Regions from separate parts of the Homo sapiens genome. Here all the other regions are linked to region 1. Evidence: promoter capture Hi-C in human tissues and cell types (Jung and others, 2019). All regions are on one chromosome and are shown on one strand. The core of a region is centred on a gene start or on the middle of the fragment in contact, and the rest is flanking DNA. Distances in the headings are between cores, read along the strand shown. Region 1 holds the start of STAT4 (signal transducer and activator of transcription 4). Region 2 has its middle 110 kb from the start of NABP1. Region 3 has its middle 200 kb from the start of NABP1. Region 4 overlaps MYO1B (myosin IB).

Region 1 (4,069 bases), core at 1,073-3,572:
TAAGTTTTAACACAGTAAATAAAAATTTCATCCAGAACAGTAATACACAAACATTCCTTGGGTTTGTCAACAATTTTTAAGGGAATAATGGTATCTTGAGAACAAAAGGTTTAAAAACTGCTGTGGAAGCCGCAAGGTAAGGCCCTGAAAAGGAGGAGGAGAACAAACTCTGTTTTGTACAGCAGGCACTCAACAATTGAATATGATAATGATAAGGACATGTAAAACCAGTGTGACTAACACTATGAGGCAGGAAGTGAAAAGTGCTAAATAAGTGGTCTAGATGTGCACTGTCCAACACGGCAGCCACTAGCCATATGTGGCTTGGAATGTGGCTAGTCCTAACTGACATGCCCTGTAAGTGCTAAATATACACCAGACTTCAGAGATTGAGTATGAAATAAGGAATGCAAAGTATCTTATTGATAATTTTTTATATTGATTATATGCCAAAATGTTAAGATTCTTGTATATATTGGGTTATTTACAATATTAAAATTAATTTCACCTGTGCTTTTTTCCTTTTTAATATGGCTATGAGAAAATTTACAATTACATATGTGGCTTACATTTTATTTCTCTTGGAGAGCGCTGGTTTGGACAGGAAGTATGAAGAATTTGGAGCAGGGAAACATTGCTGTGGGTTCAGGTCATCGGGAAGTCTTCACTGAGAACTATAGGATTTCACTAAGTAGGTAGGCTCAGGGAGGAATATCCAGTTGAAGAAAGCCTCGGTAGTGAAATATGAGGTTAATCTGGGCAGCTGAGGTGACTGCTTGGGTCACATCATGGGCTCTTATAGGGGAGAAAAGTTTCCTGGATAGGTTGGGACCAAACTGTACAGAACTTAAACTGCCAAGAATTTGGATTTTTTTCCTATAGGCAGTGACAGCTTCTCCAGAAGAAAATCAGACTTTGCTTAGTAGCTTATGGAATAGCCTGAAATTGGCACTTTCTTATGTAGGGTCAGAGCAGCATAAGCTCCTGGAAACTGCCTGCTCAACAAGCAGTGGGGACCAGGCCTACCTAACCAGGAAATTTACAGTGATATGGAAAGTGTGACTTTGGATTGATTGACCTATTTGGGGGTGGGTGGTAAGTTTAAGCACATGATAATGTCACCTGGGAGAGAAGAATCCAGAGGGTGTACCTGTGTGAAACCCGTCAGGGAAGAGGGAGGCAGGCCTTTCACCTTGGTATATTGCTCTAAGCATGTGTATAACCAAATTGAGTGACACTTTCTACCTTTCTTTCAGTCTGTCTGTCTGTCTTTATTTTTGTCTTTGTTTTACTATTTTTACTTTCTTAAACATTTTTATTGATTTTTTAATATACGGTGGGATTTTACTGTGTTGCCTGGGCTGGTCTCAAACTCCTGGGCTCAAGGAGTCCTTCCACTTCAGCCTCCCAAAGTGCTAGGATTACAGGTGTGAGCCACACGCCTGGACTTCTCTTTATTTTATTGAACCCCTACTGTGAATCAAGGGGTTAAGAGCTAACTACAAGGAGATGAAATGAAAAGACCACTGAAGTGGGAAGGGAAACACCTGGGCTATTATCGGGCTCCGTGGCTAACTTATTGAGTCCTCTTGGTCACCTCACTGGGTCTCTTCAGATATGAAAGAGGATTTAGCATTAGATGGGACCAAGACTTCCTCCAACTCTGTGATTCTAGAACAGGCTGATGTCACAAAGGGAGAAGAACGCACCGTAGCAACCAGGGGCAAGGCTACTCAAGGAGAGTAGGAGGAGGCTAGGTCAGGAAGGGCAAGCACTGGTGGCCTACCCAGGACTTGGCCCAACCCTCTGGGTCAGGTCACCCTCGTCGGAGTGAGCGGACCCCGCTGGAATTGGAGCCCAGTAAGGTCTATGAGTTTGGTGTTTTGATCCTGGCTACCCATCCCTTCCATCCCAGGGGTGGTTCACCAGGCTGAGTGGAGCCTTATACTAGGGAGAGAGGAAGCTGAAGAACTGGGCTCCAGGTAAGTAACTCTGCAGAGGATCTCAGATTGTCTAAGGAAACCACTGAAGAAAATGTATGCCCCGCCCCTCCCCTTTTTCCTGGCACTGCTGAGCCACCTGCAGTTGCGAGAGCCGCTGGGAGGGATAAGAGGGAAGAGGACGCCCGGTGAAGGGGCTCCAGCCTGGCAGTTTCTGCGTGTTAGCATTTCTAGAATAGAGTGGGTGGGAACTGACCCAAGTAAAGTCCCAGAGACTCGAACACTGACGCACAGGAAAGCCTCAAGTGGGAGGAGAAATGCAAATCCCCTACTGATGATGGCGTCAGCGGCTTTCTCCTAGGGACTGTGAGGGGCGCTTCTGACTTTGGACTTGAGCACTGCCTGGGACCTGTGCTGAGAGAGCGCTAGGTAAGTGGCCAGACCACACCTTCTGGCTGCCTCTTGTAAGGAGGACATGCTTATTATGCAGGATACTCTGAAGCTTTGCTTTCCCTTGGCGTTTTGACAATTGCTTCATTTTAACCTTCCTGAGGAGGCTTATTATAGAAGGAAGCGCCCGACTCCACGACCCACAGATGCGCCCTGGCACGGGTTCTCCGCGGAAACCGCTCCGCAGGCCCGCGCCACGGTGCCCGGGCGAATCTCCCTGCGGGGGCCAGGGGAGCTGCGGCGGCTGCGGAGGTGTGTCCTCGCGGAGGCTGAAAGTGAGCCCCTCTTCACTTTCTTAGCCAGCTTCTCTAGAGCTGTGATGTCTGACTTTAGATTAGCGTACCTGGATTTCAGAAAAAAGCTTGCAGCTACGGCAGCCGGTGACTGTGGCTTTGATGGGCGCGAGTGACATTTTAGGGCAGGTCATCTCCTTTTGCAAGCTACAGGCCACAGAGCCAAAGCGGCACCACCAGCTCACAGACGGTGGGACAAAATGCCCCTTTAGTGGGATCTTCTAGGAAATGCACGCAAAAAGGACAGACAGGCACTGAGTTTTCAGAAGCAACGTCACAGTTTTCATGAGAAAGAAGTAGCCCCTAGAGAGTGAAAGCAAAGAAACCTGCTGAAGGATGTCTAAAGGCGTTCCCAGAGGCTGCAATAGAAAATGTCCTAGGACTATGTATTCCTTCTTCTTCCTTTTTTCAGCTTTGAATTCAGCTCTCCGAAAGACTCAGATCTTAGTAGTGATTTTTTTCGGTGTTTATTTTTATTTTTTTTAATTTTCCTTTTATTTTCATTTGACACACAATTGTAAATATTTATGGAATATACAGTGATATTTCAATAAATATGAACAATGTGTTATGATCAAAGGATATTCAGCATATCCATCACCTCAAACATTTATCATTACTTTGTGTTGTGAACATTCAAAATCCTCTTAGCTTTTTGAAAATATACACTAAGTTATTGTTAACCATATTCATCCTAGTGTTACAGCACTAGAACTTATTCCTCCCATCTACCTGTAAGTTTTAGTTAGAAAATAGATTTTTCATCCAAATCATAGCGGGGGTTTAACAATAGTATGATGAAAAACTGTAATGCTATTTTCAACTCATGTTCTCTGTTGTCATTAACTAAAATAAATTGATAGATAGGACAATGTTGATAGTAGCATGAGAACAAATGTTCCAATTTTGTGTGGAATATATACACATCCGATGGAATATATATACATCCGATATCTGGAAAAACAAATGGTTCAGACTCAGGAAACCTCAGGTTGTCCCTTAGAAGCCTCACACATTAGGCAGGCGTCATTTCGCCTATTTGATCTTCAAGTTTTTCCTTTTTAAAGTTGACATACTACTTATATCCACCTACCATATTCATAGCAATGTCAGGAGTGCCACTCATTCTTCATTTAACAAGCATTGATTGAGCATTTACAATATGCCTAGAATTGTAAAGTGTAAAGGTTTTCATAAATATAAAATGATATGCAAATAAAACATTACTTCTTTTCCCACTTGCTTTCTCTTTAGCAAAACATTGGCAACACGTTTTTTTATAAATTTTAAGTCATTTACCAGGAGCTCAGGGAAAAGGTGCTCAAAATGATTCTACTTAAAACCCAAAGAATATGTATATGAAATATATGAAATTACCCTGGTGTT
Region 2 (4,069 bases), core at 1,570-4,069, 420 kb before region 1:
AGACAGAGAAGGAGGAGAAGGCCATGTGAAGAAAGACAGGGGCAAAGGTTGGAGTTACTCAGCTATAAGCCAAGGAAGACTTAAGAGGCTCACAGGAAGCTGAAGAGGTGAGGAAGGATTCTCACCCAGGTCCTTCAAAGGAGCATGGCTTTGCTGGCACCTTGATTTCAGACTTCTGGCCTCCAGAACTAGGAAAGAATAAATGTCTGTTGTTTTAGGCCCCATGTTTGGAGTAATTTGTTGTGACAGCACTAGGAAACTAACACAGTCACCAAATCCTCCTGAGACTACCTTTTTAGTATCGCTGAATCCATCCTTTTTTCCTCTCTTTCATGCCACTAATATGACTCAGATTATCATTACATTCCACACATATTTTAACTGATAGAAAAAGAAGTTGATAGGTAGAGCCAAGACAACCTTCGGATCTGAGTTTTATTAGGGCCTGGTCTTAATTACTCTATGCTTTGGATCTACTGTCTGCTCACACTGAGCACTTCTAGAAATGGGGAAATAATGACATATTTCATTATCATCATCAACTAGCTTCTGATCCACACCTGACAGTCAGTTATACCATGCAGCAGAAACATACATAGTTACATTTTCCACAGTTTGAAAAACTGCAGCTATTTCTCATCTACCCCTTGAAGAAGGAAAACAAGTTGCTTCATTTTTGCCGTGTATTTCTGATACTGCAGCAGCGTGCTGGAGAACACAGACCTCTCACGAATCTAAATATTTCTTCCTTCTCCTTGGACTAAGGAAAAGCTATGGCAGAAAAAGAACTCCATTGCTCTGTGGGATTAACCAGATTAAACCCTGAGCTGACTGATTGGAAGGAGACGTCAACAAAGGCTTTCGGGCAGAGACAGCAATAATTCCATCTGTAAGATTGATAAATAGTTGTTCAGTACCTAGAGGAATGTTTTTGAATTATTCTGAGCTTTAATGCCTACAAAAAAATAATTCTCTTTCCACTAAGGCAGGTGCCCATTGGCAGATGTTCCAGCAACTGTACCACTCTACAAAGTATAGAGATCCAGTCTCCTGGGGCTAATGAGGTTATTGATTCCTAAGAACTATCTGGCTTCAGGCAAACTACCTACTCCCAGAGACTGAAATCTATGCCAGTGTGAATATTGTAGTCTGTTTTCCCACTGGTGTACTGCAATTTCAATAGTCTTAACCTACAATGTAGGAATTTAACAAATACCATATCAATGGGTTGCTAATTATGGATTATAGGCAACGGTGCCAAGAATAAACTCCTTAAACCTTCCCCAAGCACTAGGATGCTTCAGAATTTCCCTTGATGGCTGTTTACACACTTTTAGAGTCTAACACTTTACCTCTTCCTCTCAATATGATTCATCTCCACCCTGACACTATAATAATAAGACTAAAAATATTACAGCATATCAAATTTGGAGAGAGGCAGTGAGAAAATCTGGAGAACTTTCCACTCAAAGTTTCTTCTGTTAATATCTATCACAGCTTCTCATTACCTGAGAACAGAAATCACAATGAATGTTTCTGCCTTTAAGAAGTGCAATAAATAAACTGTATTGTAAAAAAGACAGTTTTTTTGTGATTATATACAATTTGGGTGAGTATAGAAATAGGCCATTGAGGAGCATGTATATGTGCATAAACATAGAAATACATTTTGGCAAAATTAAGTTGCATTGTCACAGAAGTGTGACCATAAAGTAATAAGATTAGTTTCCTTGTCAAACTTGTGGAAATCATTTGTCATTCTGTATATGTATGTATTCTATAATTGTGTTTCAAATGTAGCAACCCTTAAGTACCTGGTCTCACAAATACATTGGAGTCTCTTCTCAATTCCACTTTCACCCAGTTAGATTTATGACTCTCATAAATGATCCAAAGATTCGGGCTCCATGATTACAATGGACACAAAGAGAAATTAGGTAGACATGAGGCATTAGGGCAAAACACATAGGCCCACCCTAATTGAGTAGGCAGCTACCACTCTCCATTCTAATAAGCCAGTTTCAGTTGTACTAGAAAAGTCCTCTTGTCAATAGGAGAAGTCCCAAATTTTCCATCATCTGCATGCCTGACACCCGCATGGCCGACATGCCTTTAACTACCATTTATGGACCAGGTACTTTATATACCTAATCTCTAGTCCCTATAGCCACTCACAAATGTGCATATTACTATCATCGTTACTATTTGACACATGAGAAAATAGACTCATAAAGGTTAAATGACTCGCCTAAGGGCCCACAAGTGATAAGTAGATGAACACAGATTAGAACTTCTAATTACCAATCTTCTGTCTTATTTCCAAGCCTTGTGACTCAAAGACAAAGCTTGTCATTGCCACAATTAATGTTCAAATGCAAACGTAGACAGCATAGGATAATAAGACTCTGTGTCACTCACACTAAGGATCCAATGAGGAGAGCAATGGAGCCCCCATACCTGGTAAGAGTGGGGAAAGAAAAGGTTTCAAAGAAGTGAGTCTGAGGGTCCTAGGGACACAGTGTGCCTTCTCACAATTCTACCCAGGGTGGGGCGACTGAATTCTCAAAGCCTTGTCTTATTTTATCTCATGAGGCAAAAGCTCACTTTCATTCTAGGGCTTCAAAGGTAGCCAGCACATTTGAATTACCCAATTTGTCATAAAAATATTGTTAGGAAAATGCCCAAACTATCAAAGATGAATTAAATTTTTCTGGCAGCTTGAGTTGGACTCATGTCTCTTCTTTCATTTGATATGTTACTGCTTGGTTTTTCATGATCTTGATATCCTTGCTTAGAAACAACATTCTCAGACACCAGGTATCAAGTAAGGGTTCAGGCCCCACTGCCTGAGTTCAAATTTTCAGAGTTTGGAGGAAGGCAGCCCAAGGGTCACTGGAATTATAATAACTTAAGGGAAAAAAAAAAAATATATATATATATATATACCAAGTTAGGCTTATGGCTTCCTCCCTAACTACCCAATGGAAAGAGATAGGGAGTAAGATAACTAGATGACATTTTTGGTCATTGTTGTTCCTAAAGGTCAACGTTTCTTCAGCTCTGGTTAAATTTTCAGCATTCTTACTTCTGCATGTTCTGTCCAGCCCCTCCTATTCCTATAATTTTGAGGAAGTCACTGAGGGAAAGTGCTGACTCATAAAATTAGTGACTGGAAGCCAGTAAGTGACAGCACTTACAGGCAAGTTTGTATTAAAAATGTAATGATGTCAAGAAATTTCTCCAGGGACTTTGGCTTTTTATTGAAGTAAACTCATTTTCCCAGGTCTCACTTTGTTGCTTTTCATATTTGCAACTTTAATGACCAGAAAAAAAACCCCACAAAAAACCCAAAACGAAACAAAACAAAACAAAAACAAGCAGAGGAAGAAAGAAGGGAGGAGAGAGGGGGTGGGGAGAGAGAGTAAGAGAAAGAAATACGTGCATTAAAGAAAGGATTTGTTATCAGTACCCTCTTCTGGAAACACAAGAATGTAGCCTGGAATCGAGCTGTGGCATTTCTTTGATGAGAAAACAAAGAGATTTACGCTAGCAGACAGCGTCAGGCTTCCATGTGTCTGATGTTATTTGGGGTTGACATAATGTAGTAGAAAGAGCCCTAAACTTAGAAATCAAAAATTGTGGATTTAAATCCAGCCTTTGCTCCTAACCTTCTACGACCTCAATATTTAAATAATTCGGTGTTTTAAGTATAGTAGACCATATATCTGGATTAGAATCACCAGAGGCTGTTGCTAAAACTGCAGAATCCCAGGATTCACTCCACCATCAGAATCAAACGGCAGGAATAGGTATGAATCTCAATTTTAAACAATTTCCAGGGAAATTCTTAAGTAGTGTTCTGGCTTCAGTTACCTAATCTGTAGGTAGATAACTACAGATAACTGATGATTTTCTTAGATTAAGTGACCTATAATGCCCCTTACACATCTAACGCTTCGTGATCTTATAAAACAAAACAGAAGGAATGATTCCTCAATGGATTAACAAACTGTGATGGATCCATACAGTGGATTAATCCTCAGGAGTAAAAAGGAATGAATTATTGATA
Region 3 (4,069 bases), core at 558-3,057, 330 kb before region 1:
TTCTTCCCTACCCAGGGTCTATCTGCCCAGGCAAAGAAAGGCAATTTCCATACCCAGGGCTCAGAGTCCTTGTTCTTAAAACTGAGCACTCGTAGAGCCAAGATTGAGTATCAGATTCACCAGGGAAGCAGGGAGAATGTTAGCCAAGGGATAGAGACCAGCAATGGATGATGGAGAATGATAGGACCCCAGTAAGTCAACAGAATACATTTATTGTAATATTATTTACTACACCCTTAATCTGCGTCAAGTCCTTTCTATACACAATGCCATTTAAACTTGACCACAACCCTGTGAAGGCAAGGCAGGGGAAAGCAAGGGAGGGGATGAAATGGGAAGTCCCCTCAGGGTGCTGAGAATTCCCCCAAACTGCAGAATCTTGACTGAAGTACATCTGACGGCAAAGCCCAAACGCGTCTAGAGTCTTGAACTCCTTGATCAGAGGCTTTTCTGAAAACTGCCCCTCCCTCTGGCTGCCCAACGTGTGGCAGGTTGAGAAGCCTTATTAAAGGCCTTTCATAAAAGCTCCAGTCGAGGAGCATCTGCTCCTGGTGTGTGAGAGATTACACAATGAGTGATCTTGGCCAGGGAGACCTAGCCAGCTCCAGGCTCCGCTGGGGAGACAAGATTTCAAAAGGCAGCCGCTCAATTAGGGAAACAGCCTTTCCTGGCCGTGCCTCTGAATTTCATTTCCAGCACAGGCTCCTCTGGTTAATGATAAGAAGCCCAAGATAAGAGCCTGATTGTTGCCTGAATGGCTTCCTTCCTGAGGGAGGGGAAAAAAGGAAAGAAAAAGATTAGCACAAGCATCAGACTCCTGATTTAGCTTTCCTTCTGAAATAATAAAATAAGTAAACAACAAAGAGCTTTTTACCATCAGAGGCTGTGTGGATTTCTCTTCTTGCACTGCCCCATTCAGGTTGTGTTTTATTTTCTAAGGTTGACCCTCTGCATTGTAGGGCATTGTATTCTCTTTCTATAGGAGGCACTTAATGGATTAAATTTGCAAAGAGTCAATGGCAATCAGCCATCCATCAGAGAGGTCTATTTACATGCAGTCACTCCTGTAGTTTTTGAAGAGCACAGAATTAAAAGAAAAAAATTGCTGGAAAATACAATTATGAGAATCTTTTGTCCCTCTTGGCACCACCTCTTTATAACCTTCTATCTGCTAAGGGGGAAGGGAAGGCGCTGTGTAATGATGTACGGACAGATGCTTGAAGGCTGGGCGTGGCTTCTGGGGTAAAAAAAGGAGAATCGGTATCAGTGCAGTGTATGAGCCTCCTGGTTCTTAGAGTTTTCTATTCAGCTGCCGGTGTTATCCTTGTGAGTGCATGGAAACCACCCCGAACAATCCAATTTAGAACAGCTTTTAAAATTCTTCACAAAAAGCAAGATGGCCTTAATTAAAATTTGAGATTCAAGCCTGTCAGCGTGGTCACACTTTCCGAGTGGTTCAGGGAATTTTACATCTCCTATTCCATGTAGGATTTGCACTGGTGAATCTTTCAATGAAATGACCATGTTATTATTTTTATGTTTGAAAATCTGCACATTGAAGATTCTGTTTTTCGATTTTAGTGTGCTTTGTGACCTTTACATTTAACACTGTTATTAGCAGGACATAACTTATTAATGGAGAAAGCTGGTGGCAAACCCCAGGTCAATGCCTTTTCTAGGTCACATTCCTTATGGGTACAGAAATACGATATCTGTCTGATTTGTGGAAATCACACAGCTGAGAGGGAATGCTGAATCAAGGTTCTTAAATCACTTTTTAGAGTAGAAAGATTTAAGTATTATAAAATATTAAATTAATAAAAATTCAGAAAGCTTTTCTAAAGTTGTATTGACAGCCCAAAGCAAAATGAAAATCTATTCAATTCAACAAATACTTATTGACTATGCTAGATACTTCTGTGAATATTAAGATAAATTTTACATGAACAAGTATCAGGTCTTCCATTTAGGTTCAATCAATTGCATAAACTTACAATGAAGCGGCTTTGTTGTCTGGGGCATATACCTTGGGCTTTGTCTTCGCGTGCCAGGAACATTTAGGACACGGACACACACAAGGAGTGGGTTTAGAAGCAGAAAGTTTAATAGACAAAGAAGAAGAGAGAGAGAGAAAGCTTCCTCATGCTGAGAAAGCGGGGTGCCCAAGAGAGGTCTCCAAGTGGAAGGGGCCTGCTGATGGCGAATATGCCGAGTTTCATAGTCCAGTTTGAGGAGGGGATGTCCGATTTTCATAGGACTCATAGATTAGTTTGATTAGGTATGATGTTTACATAGCACGTGGGGAAGGCTAGTTGTCCCACCCTAATCTTCCTATGCAAGTTGATCAGTGCCATCTTGTCTGCTCCTTACAGCACACCGGGCTGGGCAGAGAAGGGAAGATGGAGCCGCCATCTTGAAAATATCTGGTCCTGGCCTGGCGCGGTGGCTCACGCCTGTAATCCCAGCACTTTGGGAGGCCAAGGTGGGCGGATCATAAGGCCAGGAGATCCAGACCATCCTGGCTAACACGGTGAAATCTCGTCTCTACTAAAAATACAAAAAAAAAAAAAATTAGTTGGGCGTGGTGGCGGGCGCCTGTAGTCCCAGCTACTCAGGAGGCTGAGGCAGGAGAATGGCTTGAACCTAGGAAGCGGAGCTTGCAGTGAGCCGAGATCGCGCCACTGCATTCCAGCCTGGGTGACAGAGCGAGACTCCGTCTCCAAAAATAAAAAAAAGAAAATGTCTAGTCCTTAGTTCCTGCCAGCATTCGTCCATGCAAGCTCACAGCTTGCAGGCTGTTCTGTTAGAAATGATTTGGGGCTGCATTTCATTAAAAAGAAAAGCCTTACTGAGGACTCACATGCCCTTGCTATCTGCCGAAGTAATTCTTTCTTAACTCCTGTATCAACAATACATAGGATAGATCAATTAACAATACATGGATAGATTAAGAGTTCATGCAAACAAGGCTTTGAACCTATGGTGTGACTGGAAAACAACTCATGAAGCTTTGTGCTGCACCAATTGAAGTACAATATCTAGGTAAAGGATATTGCCTCAGAGTCTGCCCTCTGGCGGGTGCATGTCTGGAGTATTACATTCATTCTGGGCATCACAGTGCTGTATGCTATGTTTTGAAGTGGACGTTGACAAAGTAGAATCCACGCAACGGAAGGCACATGTGTGGTACATAATCTTGGAAAACATCGTATGAGGAATAGTTGAGGGAGTGGAGACTATTTAACCTTCAGAGAATCACATTTAGGGAAGTCCTAGCATCACAGAATTGAAGAGTGAGAATAACCTACTCTACATCTCTTACTTAACCTCTGTCTTTTACAGATGAGAAAACAGGCCCAGAAAAGGGCAATGCCATGCTGGTCTCCATCTACAGTCTTGCTTAAGCCTGGTGGTTTTATTCCTGTAGTACCAATATTCACTACACATCTCAGCTTATGCTTCTGGTCAGCTGTTGATTCCAGTTATCAGAAGGATGGACCTTCTCTGCCCTCAAAACGATCTGAGTGTTGGAAAGAAGAGCAGGCCAAGAGTCTAGTTCTTTTTCCTTTATCTATTGCCTGGCAAATTCCTGCTTATCCTTCAAGGCAACTCAAATGTCACCTCATCTCTGAGCCTCTGTAAAAAGTGAAGTAGAAGTTCCTCTTCAAAGAGACTTTCCTCCGCATCTAATTAAGAACAAATGTAACTTCTCTTAGAAGCAAAATTTATTCAAAGACCTGTGCTAACATTCTAAAATATCTGCTAGCCGTAATAAAGAAATCAATATACTTTGTGTTCTTAACTCCCACAAGTTTGCATAAATATTTGCCCTGGCATGCTTATACTGGTCCAAGCAAGCCTTAGGTCATAGCCTGTTCCTCTTCCTTATTTGGAGGTGTTTTTACTTTCTAACACCGCACAGTCCTCTTTGAAAATTAATTACACTCTCCCATCATTTCCCACAGCTTTCTGGAAACATCTCATTGTAGCATCTATCACTTGATATTGTAATTGTTTACTTATACATCCATCTTTCCACTAGATTTTGAGCACCTGATGAAGCATGATT
Region 4 (4,069 bases), core at 827-3,326, 270 kb before region 1:
GAGATATATCTCTGGCATATATACTTGTATGTATGTGTCTCAAAAAAAATCTTTCAGGTTTATTGAAAATTCACACATTTTAAAAATCAAACACTTTCACATTTTTATTTTCAAAGACCACTTGTGGCTGGGCACAGTGGCTCATGCCTGTAATCCCAGCACTTTGGGAGGCCAAGGCAGGCAGGTAACTTGAGGCCAGGAGTTCGAGACCAGCCTGGCCAACATGGCAAACCCACGTCTCTACTAAAAATACACAAATTAGCCAGGGACGGTGGTGCATGCCTGTAATTCCAGCTACTCGGGAAGCTGAGGCAGGGGAATCGTTTGCAGCTAGGAGGCAGAGGAGGCTGCATTGAGCCGGGATCACACCACCGGACTCTGACCTGGGTGACAGAGGGAGACTCTGCCTCAAAATAAATAAAAAAGACCACTTGTAAGTGTAATAAATGTATAGGAACTTCTTTCCCCAATAACCTTGGCCTACATTAACTGTTTCCATGTCTATAATTCCTGATTAATATTCACACTAGAGGCCAGGCACGGTGGATCATGACAGTAATCCCAGCACTTTGGGAAGCTGAGGTGGTCGGATCACCTGAGGTCAGGAGTTTGGAACCAGCCTGGCCAAGACGGTGAAACCTCGTCTTTACTAAAAATACAAAAATTAGCAGGGCGTGGTGGTGCATGCCTGTAACCTCAGCTACTCGGGGAACTGAGGCAGGAGAATCCCTTGAACCCAGGAGGCAGAGGTTGCAGTGAGCCGAGATCTCGCCACTGCACTCGAGCCTAGGCGACAGAGCAAGACTCTGTCTCAAAAAAAAAAAAAAAAAGATTCACACTAGAAATAACAATAGGCAAGATATATTGAGGATTTGCTACATACCACACTGTGCTTGGCCATTTACTATGTTATTAGATCAGGCTTTAAGACAATCCTAGGAGGTAAGCACTATTATTTATCTTCACCTCATAGAAAAGAGAAAATCCTCCTCCAACAAACAATAACATGGAATGTATTATTTCATGGCATTCATACCAGTTAGAATTTCAAGGTAAAAGGAACATGGATTAGTTGTTTGGATTTCAAATATTCAGAAAACCAATTGTATAACTTAAATGATATATGTGTATCTATTGTACACACGTGTATACCTATATGTATATACACACACATATATTTAAAATGTTTAATGAAACAAATTCACTTTAGTTTTTACTCTATTTGGGAACTTGATTTTAGAAATATAGTCATGCATCATCTAATAAAAGGGATACATTCTGAGAAATGCATCACTAGGTGATTTTGTCATTGTGCAAACATCATAGAGTGAGTGCATTTACCCAAACCTAGATGCTACAGCGTGTTATTGTACTGTAGGTAACTGTAACACAATGGTATTTGTATGTGTAAACTTAGTAAGAATAGAAAAGGTACAGTAAGAATAGCATAAAAGATAAAAAATAGTGTACTTGTCTAGCGCCCTTACCATGAATGGGGCTTGCAGGCCTGGAAGTAGCTCTGGGTGAGTCAGTGAGTGAGTTGTTAGTGAATGTGAAGGCCTAGGACATTACATTACGGTATACTTTATAGGTAATTTTTTCTTTCTTCAATAATAAATTAACCTTTGCTTACTGTAACTTTTTGCTTTATAAACTTTACAATTTTAAAAACATTTTTGACACTTTTGTTTTGTTTTTGAGGCAGGGTCTTGGTCTGTCTCCCAGGCTGGAGTTCACTGGAGCAATCATGGCTCAGGGCAGCCTTGACCTTCCCGGGCTCAGATGATTCTCCCACCTCAGCCTCCTGAGAAGCTGGGACTACAGGTGTGTGTCACCATGGCTGGCTAATTTTTTAATTTTTTTGTTGAGAAGGGGTTTCGTCATGTCGCCCAGGCTGGTATTGAACTCCTAAGCTCAAGCAATCCACCAGCCTTGGCCTCCCAAAGTGCCAAGATTACAGGCGTGAGCCACTGGGCCCGGCTGTTTTTTGGCTCTTTTGTAATAACACTTAGCTTAAAACACAATACTTTGTATAGCTGTACAAAAATATTTTCTTTATAACCTTATTCTATAAGCTTTTCTCTATTTTTAAAATTTTAATTTTTTTTATTTTTACTTTTTAAACTTTTTGTTAAAAACTAAGATACAAACATATTAGCCTAGGCCTACACAGGGTCAGGAGCATCAATTTCACTGTCTTCTATCTCCATGTCTTGTCCCACTGGAAAGTCTTCAGGGGTAATAATACACATGGGGCTGTCTTCTCCTAAGATAACAATGCCTTCTGAAATACCCCCTTAAGGACCTGCCCGAGGCTGTTTTACTATTAACTTTTTTAACATGTAGGCATACACGCTAAAATAAAGATAAAAAGTACAGTATAGGCCGGGCGTGGTGGCTCACGCCTATAATCCCAGCACTTTGGGAGGCTGAGGCGGGCAGATCACAAGGTCAGGAGATCGAGACCATCCTGGCTAACACGATGAAACCCCACCTCTACTAAAAGTACAAAAAATTAGCCGGGCGTGGTGGCGGGCAGCTGTAGTCCCAGCTACTCGGGAGGCTGAGGCAGGAGAATGGCATGAACCCAGGAGGCGGAGCTTGCAGTGAGCCGAGATCACGCCACTGCACTCCAGCCTGGGCAACAGTGCAAGACTGAGTCTCAAAAAAAAAAAAGTATAGTATAATAAATACATAAACCAGTAACAACATCATTTATTATCAAGAGTTACATATTGTACATAATTGTATGTGCTTTTACTTGTAGACAACTGGCAGTGAAGTAGGTTTGTTTACACCAGCAGCAGCACAAACATGTGAGTAGTGCCTTGCACTATAACATTACAACACCTGTGACATCAATAGACAGAAGAATTTTTCAGCTCCATTACAATCTTAGGGGACCACCGTCATCTGTGCAATCCATTGCTGACCAAAATGTCATTATGTGGTGCATAACTGCATTACACATCTTGCAGGTTATCCTTAAAATGCAATCTAGTTACACATTGAACAGCTTAGAAGTTTAAGGACTAGAAACTATAAGGCAGCTGAATCTCTGAATGAATTCAATTCTCACTTCTATATGTACAAGTTTAAATTCCACTGAACAGGCTGGGCGCGGTGGCTCACGCCTGTAATCCCAGCACTTTCAGAGGCCCAGGGGGGCGGATCACCTGAGGTCAGGAGTTCGAGACCAGCCTGACCAACATGGAGAAACCCCATCTCTACTAAAAATACAAAATTAGCCAGGCGTGGTGGTGCATGCCTGTAATCCCAGCTACTCAAGAGGCTGAGGCAGAATAATCCCTTGAACCCGGGAGGCGGAGGTTGCGGTGAGCCAAGATCGTGCCACTGCACTCCAGCCTTGGCAACAAGAGCGAAACTCTGCCTCAAAAAAAAAAAAAAAAAAAAAAAATCCACTAAAGAGTAAACAGGACTTTGACTCTCTTTCCATAAACTGACATCCACTTATCCATAATGATTACAGAATCTAGGTTTGTTAGAGTAACTACTTCTACTTCTGGGAAGGAAAAAGCAAGGAAGGGCTTAGTCACTAAACTGCATGTGGTTTTCAACACTGGTTCTATAGAGCTAGCGAAGCCACTTAGGGCTGACACATAAAGGAACAGGCGCCCCTGCCTATGACTTTGGACATTTTCGTTTAAATTCAAAATGCTCCCTAAGGAGATTTACGATCCTTACCTACAAACTTCCTCTGCAGGCTTCCTGTGCCACCTGGGGAAGGGACCCACGGGTGCTATGTAGAGTCCTATGAACTGTTTTATTTTTATGAGACCAATCAATAATTAGGCACTGGAGAATGAAAGGCATTATAATGCTACCCAATGTTTGTTTTCTTCATGTGGCCACATTATAAATCTTCGCTCAGACAACTGTTTACTGAAAGCTTATGGCATCCAGAACATCACACGCCCTCTGTGACAGGGCAGGGCCCTTGCTGCCCAGAAGCGAACTGTCCCCCTTTCCCAGATGGCACACCTTCGAACACAAGCTGTGAGAGCTGCTGAAGGAGCTCTGTGGTTGACTATGTTTAGGATTCACGCCA

Evidence for each region. The method cuts DNA at HindIII sites, captures the fragments that hold promoters and counts their contacts. A contact is called where the count stands out against the background at its distance.
Region 2: a contact is called between a fragment that was not itself captured here and the fragment with the promoter of STAT4 in region 1, in 2 of the 25 tissues and cell types used here (lymphoblastoid cells and spleen).
Region 3: a contact is called between a fragment that was not itself captured here and the fragment with the promoter of STAT4 in region 1, in 1 of the 25 tissues and cell types used here (IMR-90 fibroblasts).
Region 4: a fragment that was not itself captured here is called in contact with the fragment with the promoter of STAT4 in region 1 in 1 of the 25 tissues and cell types used here (IMR-90 fibroblasts).

The regions. Positions count from the first base shown.
Region 1 is chr2:191,149,247-191,153,315 of GRCh38, reverse strand. It overlaps STAT4 (signal transducer and activator of transcription 4), which reads left to right and starts at 2,322. Exons shown (of 24, transcript NM_003151.4): 1 at 2,322-2,369. RefSeq lists enhancers at 1,903-1,982, 2,113-2,162 and a silencer at 2,633-2,682. The HindIII fragment of the contact is 8,161 bases long and covers 1-2,597 here.
Region 2 is chr2:191,570,691-191,574,759 of GRCh38, reverse strand. No RefSeq gene overlaps it. Among named protein-coding and RNA genes, the nearest start is that of NABP1, 110 kb to the left of the region's middle. The HindIII fragment of the contact is 6,727 bases long and covers 1-4,069 here.
Region 3 is chr2:191,476,112-191,480,180 of GRCh38, reverse strand. No RefSeq gene overlaps it. Among named protein-coding and RNA genes, the nearest start is that of NABP1, 200 kb to the left of the region's middle. RefSeq lists an enhancer at 339-1,239. The HindIII fragment of the contact is 4,499 bases long and covers 1-4,056 here.
Region 4 is chr2:191,417,832-191,421,900 of GRCh38, reverse strand. The region is part of intron 30 of MYO1B (myosin IB); the gene reads right to left. Among named protein-coding and RNA genes, the nearest start is that of MYO1B-AS1, 170 kb to the right of the region's middle. The HindIII fragment of the contact is 6,261 bases long and covers 1-4,069 here.